Regions from separate parts of the Homo sapiens genome. Here regions 1 and 3 are each linked to region 2. Evidence: promoter capture Hi-C in human tissues and cell types (Jung and others, 2019). All regions are on one chromosome and are shown on one strand. The core of a region is centred on a gene start or on the middle of the fragment in contact, and the rest is flanking DNA. Distances in the headings are between cores, read along the strand shown.

Region 1 (2,700 bases), core at 17-2,516, 580 kb after region 2:
GTCAGTGTCTGGGAGTAATTTAGGAAAGTTTGGTGCTGACAGCTGTGTCTGGGACTTGAACGTCATGGCCAAACCAGCTCCTGGGCTCCTCAGCTGCTTCAGACTAATGAACCTCTGGCCCAGGACACAAGAAGCAGCTGTGGTGTGGCTGAAGTCAGGACCCCCGGAGGCCCAGACTCAGCCTTGCTGCTTCCTTAACAGTGTGACCTTAGATAAGTCACTTAGGAAAAGAGGAAAGGAAACTAGCATTTAGCGAGTGCAGTGCCCTTTCACAGCTGCCATCATACAGTGAGGAGGGGAATGTCCCTATTTCACATGAGAAGTCCTGAAGGTAAACGTGTCATTCAAGGCTCTATAGCTGGGGAGTAAGAAGACAGAATTAGAACCCAGAGCTTCTGAATTCAAATCCCGGGCTGTTGGCCCTGAGCTTTAGCTTCTCGGTCTGTAAAATGGTGTTACACTCACCTGGCACATGAAGTCGCACACTGAAGGTTCTAAAACCCCTCCATTCTTTCTCCCAACCGTGGTCCTGAAGAGCTGTGGCACCTTCTTCCTGGGAACGTAGTCATCGTATTTTGCCCTCCCCACAACAGGTTTGTGGGGTCTAGGCCCCAGGAGGTGTCTGAAGGGAAGGTATTTGGACTTTGCTTTCCCCTCTACCCCACTCCCCAGACCTTCTCCCGACTCCAGAGGGCTGGCTCCCGCTTCTCCTCCCTGGTTTTGGCTGGCGGACTGACATCAGCTGGTATTCCTAGGGATAGGATAAGGAACCCTGAGCTGCATGGCTCAGCTCCAGGCGCCCCTTCCCCCACAACCCAGGACAGCCCCTTAGAAGCAGCGGCGTCGAGAGGCCGCTGGAGCTCCCAGCCCCCTCCCTCTTCTCCACGTCTGGGAGAGCAGCTTGCCGACCCCTCCAGACCCGAAAGAGAGAGGGGGCGACTCGAATTCGGGGAGCGATCCTGGGAGACCCTGGAGAGTCCTGGGCGCCACGCAGCCGAGCCCCCGAAATAGATCCCGGTTCCGGGGTTCCGGGAGCTGTCCAGCCTCGCGGGGTGAGCTACGAGAGGGTGGGCCAACGCCGGCGAGGCGGAGGGAGCCGCGGGCGCCAGGCGCGGGTGAGGCAGCGACTCCCCCTCCAGCCGCGGGCCCCGAGCGTCGCCCCCGCCCCCCACGTGGCCGCCGCCGTCCCAGCCCCTCCGAGGAAGCGGCGCGGCTTCCTGCAGCTTGGGCTGGGGATATAGGCGCCCCCACACCCGGGCCCGGCTCAGCGCCGCCGCCGCTCCTCGCCTCCTTGCTGCACGATGGCCTCGCTCCGGGTGGAGCGCGCCGGCGGCCCGCGTCTCCCTAGGACCCGAGTCGGGCGGCCGGCAGCGCTCCGCCTCCTCCTCCTGCTGGGCGGTGAGCGCGGCGCCCCGAGGCCCGGGCGGGAGGCGCGAGAGGCCCCGGAGGGGAGAGGGGAGAGGGGAGAGGGGCTGGATGGCCGAGGCCGGAACGGGCCCTGGGGTGCGGGTTAGGACCGACGTACCTAGCAGCACTGGCCCTCGGACGGTCCCTGACCCCACCTCGGGGCGGGCGCAGCATGAGCTGCTTCCCACCCAGGGAAAGCTGGGGTGCTGGCCCCGGCCCCTCGAAGAGGGCTTAGGAGGACGGAAGCTGGCCAGAGATGAGGGGGCTTTGGGCCTGGGTGTGAGTGACAAGGAGCTGGTGCCAGCCCCTCCCTCCCCGGCACTGAGGCGTCCGTGGGGGCTAGATTATTCCTCCTTTTCTTCCAAGGTAGCCTATTTTCGGAGGGTCTCAGTCCCCCAACCCCCCTCGCAGGCTCCACTGCCGGGGTCCCCGCTATGTTACCCTCCTCTCCCGTTTCTTCCCACAGCTGTCCTGAATCCCCACGAGGCCCTGGCTCAGCCTCTTCCCACCACAGGCACACCAGGGTCAGAAGGTGGGTACCCAGGGTGTGGAAGGGTGGCCGAGGGTAAGGACGAGAGCAAGTTCAGTGGGGAGGGTTCCTTTCCCACGAGGCCTGCCCAACCCCAGCTGATGCCCCACTACACTCCCCTCTGTTCTTTCTTGGGGTTCCTCGTGGTCTTTCTCCCTGTCCTCCTACAAAGCCCCTGCACGGCTCTGAGCTGCCCACCTCACAAGTGGGCGAGAAGACCCCAGGAAAAGGTGTACGTGGAAGTTCTTATCAGGCTGGGATGGAAAGTGCTTAGCACATGGAAGTCATTATAGGATTCCTGAGCTGGGACTCTGTCCTCAGCCAGAATGTTTTGCTAGGGAAACTTTCTGAAGGGTTCCCACGTTTGAAGACAGGCAGTTCACCTTGCAAGCACCTGGGCAGGAGGGTTTGTAGGGAGGGGTAGGGGTGTGGTCATTGTGTAGCATCTGTACCTACAGGGGGGACGGTGAAGAACTATGAGACAGCTGTCCAATTTTGCTGGAATCATTATAAGGATCAAATGGATCCTATCGAAAAGGATTGGTGCGACTGGGCCATGATTAGCAGGTAGGGGCAGTGATGGAGGGTGGCTCAGGCCAGGGGGTGGACCTGCTCATTGCAGGTAGACCCTGAGTGAGAGTGGGGCACTCTTCTCCCTGGGTCCACCCCCTCTCTCACTCAAGTCCTCTTCTGCCCCTAGGCCTTATAGCACCCTGCGAGATTGCCTGGAGCACTTTGCAGAGTTGTTTGACCTGGGCTTCCCC
Region 2 (2,700 bases), core at 88-2,587:
GGCATTGAGCGTATAGCTCCAGCAACCCCCAGCAGCAGAACCCGAGCTGTCTCCCTCCAGCTCCAATGGGTGGGAGGCCAGGGGGACTCCTGTGGGCCATCCAGGGACAGAGACTCAGCTAAGAGATGGGGCCTGTGACACAACCAGTCCTGGTGCTCTAGGAGGGATGACTGTCTGGGGGCAGGGAGGCTGATGGGGACACTGAAGGTGCCTGGGAGGCACTGGGCTCTGGGCACAGCCTCCTTCTTCCATCCCAGGGCCTGTTGCCCCGGTGATGGGCGCTATGGAAACAAGGTGGTGGGGAAGAGGGTAGGGCCCGGCGGCTCAGTTTCCGCCCTCGGGTACCGCTCCCCCACCATCCAGATCCCGGCCAGGGTTCCCGAGGGAATGGCGGGGTTGGGGGAGGTGAGGGCGGGGAATCTCTGGGTTCCAGAGTGGGAAGAGGGAATGGCGGGAGAAGAGGCGGGGGAGGAGTGATGTGGCTGTCCAAGGTGCTGAACCTGAAACCCAAGCTACGTTGGGCGAGCTGGGAGTTCCCACCGTCGCACAGACCGCTCCCCTCCTCCTGCCTCACCCACCTTAGACACTGACGCCCCACGATTTGGGGGCGCGCGACCTCAATCCAAACTAGGTCCTGCTGAAGTCTGATCTTTTCTCCTTTTTTTCTGGAGGTAGTGGGAGCTGGAGTCTGTGAGTAGACCCCAGAATGCCCGGCCACTTTGCCCCACTTCTGTGTCTCGGATACCCCCATACACGCCCCCAGCACAGCTCTGCCCGAGAGTGGGCGGCTCCGAAGGACCCTCCTCCGCTCTGCCGCACAAAGAGCCTCTTCTGCCTCGAGTCACACCCCCTAACCTTGGCCCCCGTGCTCTCGGCCCTTTCCCCTCCTCCCCTCGCAGGGCACTCCCCGCCCTGTTCCTGCACCGCGGCTTTGGGAGTTCCTAGACCCGCACCTCCATTCTCTCCCCTCGCCTCGGGTCTCACCATGTCCAGGAGATCCGAGACGGCCCCGAGGATACTTGCCCCCCAGCTCGAACCTCAAGCCCCGACCTCCGTCCCACTCACGCGTTCCGTCAAAACGGGTGGCGATGGTGTCCAGGAAGGTGTTTTGCGGGGCCAGCAACCCCTTCATGACCGGCATGGCCCCGGGGCGTGGGTTCAAGGCGCGGCGCTGGGGAGCTTTCAGCGCGGCCGGGCCGGAGGGGGCGCGCTGTCGGAGGGGCCGGGGCGCCCCATGCGCCCTCCTGCCTCCTCCCCTCCCTCTTACTGCCGCTGCCGCTGCCGCTGCCTCTGCTCCGAACCCCGTAGCTCTCGGCTCGGCTCAGCGCCGTTTCGGTCCCCCCCACCTCCCCACGGGCCAGGTTCTTCCCCTCGGGCTCGGCCCGCACCCGCCACGTGGCCCCACACGGGGAGGGGCCGCTAGCGACACCCGCACCCCTCTGGGCAGCCCTCCTCCCAGAGGGGAGCGGCCCACGCGTGTCTCTCGGGGAGAGAATTCGGGGCACGCCCACCGGGAGGGGAGGCCTGAAATGATGGGCGGGGCTTGAATAACAGACCCGCCCTCTTCCAGGCTGGCCACGCCTCCACACGTGGTTCCCTGGCTGCTCCTTGTGGCTCCACCTCGCGGGTTTTCCCGCGCGGCGTCCACGCTGGGCTGGTGTCTGGTTCACAGTGCCGCCTACTGGAGTTGACATATTTCGCAGCACCCACAGGCCAGTAGCTCCAGCGTGAGACAGCAAGGGTTAAGAGGCTAGTTTGCTGGTAGAGAATGGACAATGGGAAGGCTTGAAACCCCAACTCTAGAAAGCACCATTCTTACCTCCTGCCTCAGTTTTCCCAAGACACCCTGGCGAACTCTGCCTACTGAGACACAGCATGGTGGAATGAAAAGAGCTTTGGAGTCCACCAGGTAGAGTCCCAGCTCTAGACACCAATCGTGTGATATCCTCTCCAAGCCCACTTTCCTCATCTGTAAAATGGAGCTGATAATTCTTACCTGATGCAGTTACCGTGAGAATGTAATACCATAATGCATGTCTTTGGTACAAAATAAGTGTCTTGAAGGGCAGTTGCCTGCCTGTTTTCCCTCTTCCTACTGTCTTAATCCTCCTCTCTGCTGCCCTTCAAGTGGAAGAGAGGCTGGAGGCAAGTTTGGGAGAAACTACCTCTGAAAAAGATAGTTTCGAGGTGGGCAGAGTCATGGCTTGCAAATCTCCAAGGATGCACATGTGAACTTTGACCTCTAACTTCTCCAAGATGGAACCAGTACAGCAGCAAGAGGGACCAAAGTGAGACTAGACACAGGACTTTCTCACTACCTATGCAGAAAATTGAGGCAGCTGAGTTCTGTGGCTGAGGGTGGCTGCTTCCCACGACAAAACAGCTGAAGCAGTGAAAGTGGGAACCCTATGGGCAAGGAGGGCAGGCTAAATTCTCCCCACCCTCTGAGCTAGGTATTATCTGGGATGTTAGATTGCTAAGAAGTGCCACATTTTTCTGTGTCTCTACTTTTGTTGTTGTTGTTGTTCTTGTTGTTCTTGTTCTTGTTGTTTTTGAGACGGAGTCTTGCTCTGTTGCCCAGGCTGGAGTGCAGTGGCATGACCTCAGCTCACTGCAACCTCTGCCTCCTGGGTTCAAGCAATTCTCCCGCCTCAGCCTCCTTAGTAGCTGGGATCACAGGCGTGCATTACAATGCCCGGC
Region 3 (2,700 bases), core at 18-2,517, 990 kb after region 2:
GGCCAAAAAGTTTCAATATTTACACTGGCTGCTTTAATAAGGGCATTGATCTTATCCTCCGTAAAGGTCACCTCATAGTCCTGCAGAATGAGGGCAGAGTAGATGCAGGCAAGCTGGGAGACGGAGGCCATAGCGCGGGCGAGTGTGGGGCTGGGGCTGCCGGACGCGGTGCTACTCACCGGATGAAGTGAGGGTCTCACCCCAACGCGGCCTTAGCTTCCTCGGAAGGACCGAACACCTTGGCGGCAGCCGAGGAAAGGGGTTCCACAGTTTTAATTTATCTGTAATTCCCACGCTTTACTGTTGCCACGGAAACCGCTGAGCAATAGCCTCTCAGAATAGGAAATCAAGACACAGTCAGAGGAAGGGCGGGACAGAAAGAGCCTAGCATCTCTCGGGGCTCTGGGTTGGCCACCCAGTCCTCCCCTGGTGACATAAAAAGAAAGAGACGGAAAAGGAAGAATTCTACCTGAGTTCGCCGTAAAGCGCCCGCCCTCTCGCCTCTACGCTTCCAGTTGCGGCTTATTACGTCACAGTAATTGCTGTACCAAGGTCAGAATCGCCACCTGAGGCCTGAATATCAGCGTAAGATAGTGTCCAAAGCAGTCTTAAGAAGAGGTCCCATTACCCCACTCTTTCCGCCCTAATGGAGGTCTCCAGTTTAGGTAAATAAAAGGATTGTTGGGAGGTGGAGGGAAAGAACTACTATTTCCAACATGCATTGCGGAACGAAAGGCCTTGGCCACACTGTTCCTTGGAAACTGTAGTCTTATGGAGAGGAACATCCAATACCAAAGCGGGCACAATTCTCACGGAAATCCAGTGGATAGATTGGAGACCTCCGCGGGCTTATACATGTCAACAGTAATGGATTGGAGTGTTGTTATGTTCTCCTATCTTGAGAGCAGAGACTAGGCCAAAAAAAGATACCTACAACTCCTAGGAAGACTACGATTCCCATCCAGCCCCACGAGTCTCGGGCAAGTAGTCCTCTAAGGTCAGTGGCCTGCGGGGACGCAGTGGGCGCCGAATTTGCCTGGGGAAGGGGAAATCCGCTCTGGCCCACATCTGCGCACTCCTAGTTCCGCCCCTCAGCCTCAATGTTTGTTATTGTTGTTCGGGTTCAGGTTGCTTCTGCCCCGCCCCATCGACGCAATCTCCACCAATCAATGGCGTGGTCGTTTTGAGGGACAAGTGGTGAGAGCCAATCATCTTGGCGAACACTCGGAGAAACAGGGGACTAGTTACTGTCTTTATCCGCCATGTTAGATTCACCCCACAGGGATAGCGGCAGAGCCGGTAGCGGACGGTCCTTGCATTGGCCTCCGGCAGGCGCCCCCCGGGGGCGGGAAGCTGGTAAGGAAGCAGCTGCGGTTACCTAGGGGTGGGGTCACGTCACGCTAAGAGGGTTTGGGGAAGTTCAAGGGAGGAATCCTGCAAAGAAGAGGGGCGACTTTTTCCGTGTTTCGGGACAGCTAATCTTTTTAGTGACAGGATGAGAGAGCCCTTCATGTTCAGAGGGACCGAGTTGGCGAGAAGCGCCGGAGAGTTGGAGAGTCTGTGGGTCAGAACATCCGGCTTCTACTGATGGAAGGCCACGACTCCCCAGTGGAATGAGGGCCTAGGCAAAGAAAATGAGAGAGCCCTCGGGGTAGTGACACTGTCTTGGGAACATGGAGTGCTAGGAAACGAAAACTGGAAGACTAGGATGAACTCTGCAAGTAAAAAAATGACACTACTTACACATCCTTCTCATCCCATCCTCGTTTTTTCGAGACCTTAAAGAGATCTCCTTGGTTAGGGACCTTCGGTTTTGGAAAGGCACTGTTTTTCCTTTTTGTCAAACACTCAGCTTTCAGGCCACACTTTTTTGAGACAGAGTCTTGCTTTCTCAAAGACCAACCCAGGCTGGGCTTGAACTGCTGAGCTCAAGCGATCCTCGTGCCTTGGCCTCCCAAAGTGCTGGGATTACAGGTATAAGCCACCGCTCCCGGCCTCAGGTCACACATTTTAAAGCCTGGATAACTTGGCTTGTAAAGGCCTCTGGTGGAGACAGTAATCAAAGCTCAGGTTGCCAGGTCTGTTTCATTAAAGGGATTTTGTTGAGGCTGAAAAAAAAATCGACGTGGAGGAAAAGCTAACTTGTGCCAAGCAAAGGTGAGTCAGTGGCATGGACTTACAATAATGCCAGTTATGAAAGCTGAAGGCCTAAGACCCAGCTATCTGACTCTACTGGCTGTAGACCTAAGGGGCAGATAGGGTTAACCATAGCTTTGGTGTTTACACACGTTTAAGATTAATGCTCCTGCTGAAAGAATTTTTTTACATGTCAGCCAAAGAGAGTTCCTTATGAAGACCTGGATATGGTCCAGCCAAGCTAGAATCTCCCACTTCCTGTTTTCTCTTAGTTGGCCCACCAGCTGGAGGAGCTCCAGAGTATCTAAATTTCCAATTGTGTAATTTGAGAAAAAGAGAGGAAGATTCATTTCCTTCACAAGTAGGGAAGTGTGTTTCTTGAAGTTGGAAAGTGATATTTCAGAATACCCACTTTTGGCGGACTGAGTCACTTCATTTCCTTGATTTTTTGCCTAAGGTCCTGGGGAATTGACAAAGATTCTCAAATTTTAAGGACCCCAATAATTACATTTCATATGAATGAATACTAGATGTCAGCAGGATTGTTGTTAAGAGACTAATATT

Evidence for each region. Contacts are between HindIII fragments. The study calls those that stand out against the background at their distance.
Region 1: the fragment with the promoter of RAMP2 here is called in contact with the fragment with the promoter of KCNH4 in region 2 in 1 of the 25 tissues and cell types used here (adrenal gland).
Region 3: a contact is called between the fragment with the promoter of NBR1 here and the fragment with the promoter of KCNH4 in region 2, in 1 of the 25 tissues and cell types used here (aorta).

The regions. Positions count from the first base shown.
Region 1 is chr17:42,759,961-42,762,660 of GRCh38, forward strand. It overlaps RAMP2 (receptor activity modifying protein 2), which reads left to right and starts at 1,267. Exons shown (of 4, transcript NM_005854.3): 1 at 1,267-1,398; 2 at 1,874-1,939; 3 at 2,395-2,503; 4 at 2,637-2,700. The coding sequence starts at 1,302. It overlaps RAMP2-AS1 (RAMP2 antisense RNA 1), which reads right to left and starts at 1,297. Exons shown (of 6, transcript NR_024462.1): 1 at 920-1,297; 2 at 675-751; 3 at 466-553. RefSeq lists a silencer at 1,381-1,470. The HindIII fragment of the contact is 24,962 bases long and covers 1-2,700 here.
Region 2 is chr17:42,179,805-42,182,504 of GRCh38, forward strand. It overlaps KCNH4 (potassium voltage-gated channel subfamily H member 4), which reads right to left and starts at 1,338. Exons shown (of 17, transcript NM_012285.3): 1 at 1,066-1,338. The coding sequence starts at 1,141. RefSeq lists an enhancer at 1-298 and silencers at 1,248-1,487, 1,494-1,769. The HindIII fragment of the contact is 13,187 bases long and covers 1-2,700 here.
Region 3 is chr17:43,169,947-43,172,646 of GRCh38, forward strand. NBR1 (NBR1 autophagy cargo receptor) reads left to right here and starts at 1,268. Exons shown (of 21, transcript NM_005899.5): 1 at 1,268-1,356. It overlaps LOC101929767 (a long non-coding RNA gene), which reads right to left and starts at 457. Exons shown (of 2, transcript NR_110868.1): 1 at 180-457. It overlaps LOC124900391 (a long non-coding RNA gene), which reads right to left and starts at 1,018. Exons shown (of 2, transcript XR_007065760.1): 1 at 470-1,018. It also overlaps a transcript of BRCA1 not described here and the pseudogene BRCA1P1. RefSeq lists enhancers at 89-298, 569-618, 869-978, 1,299-1,408. The HindIII fragment of the contact is 14,047 bases long and covers 1-2,700 here.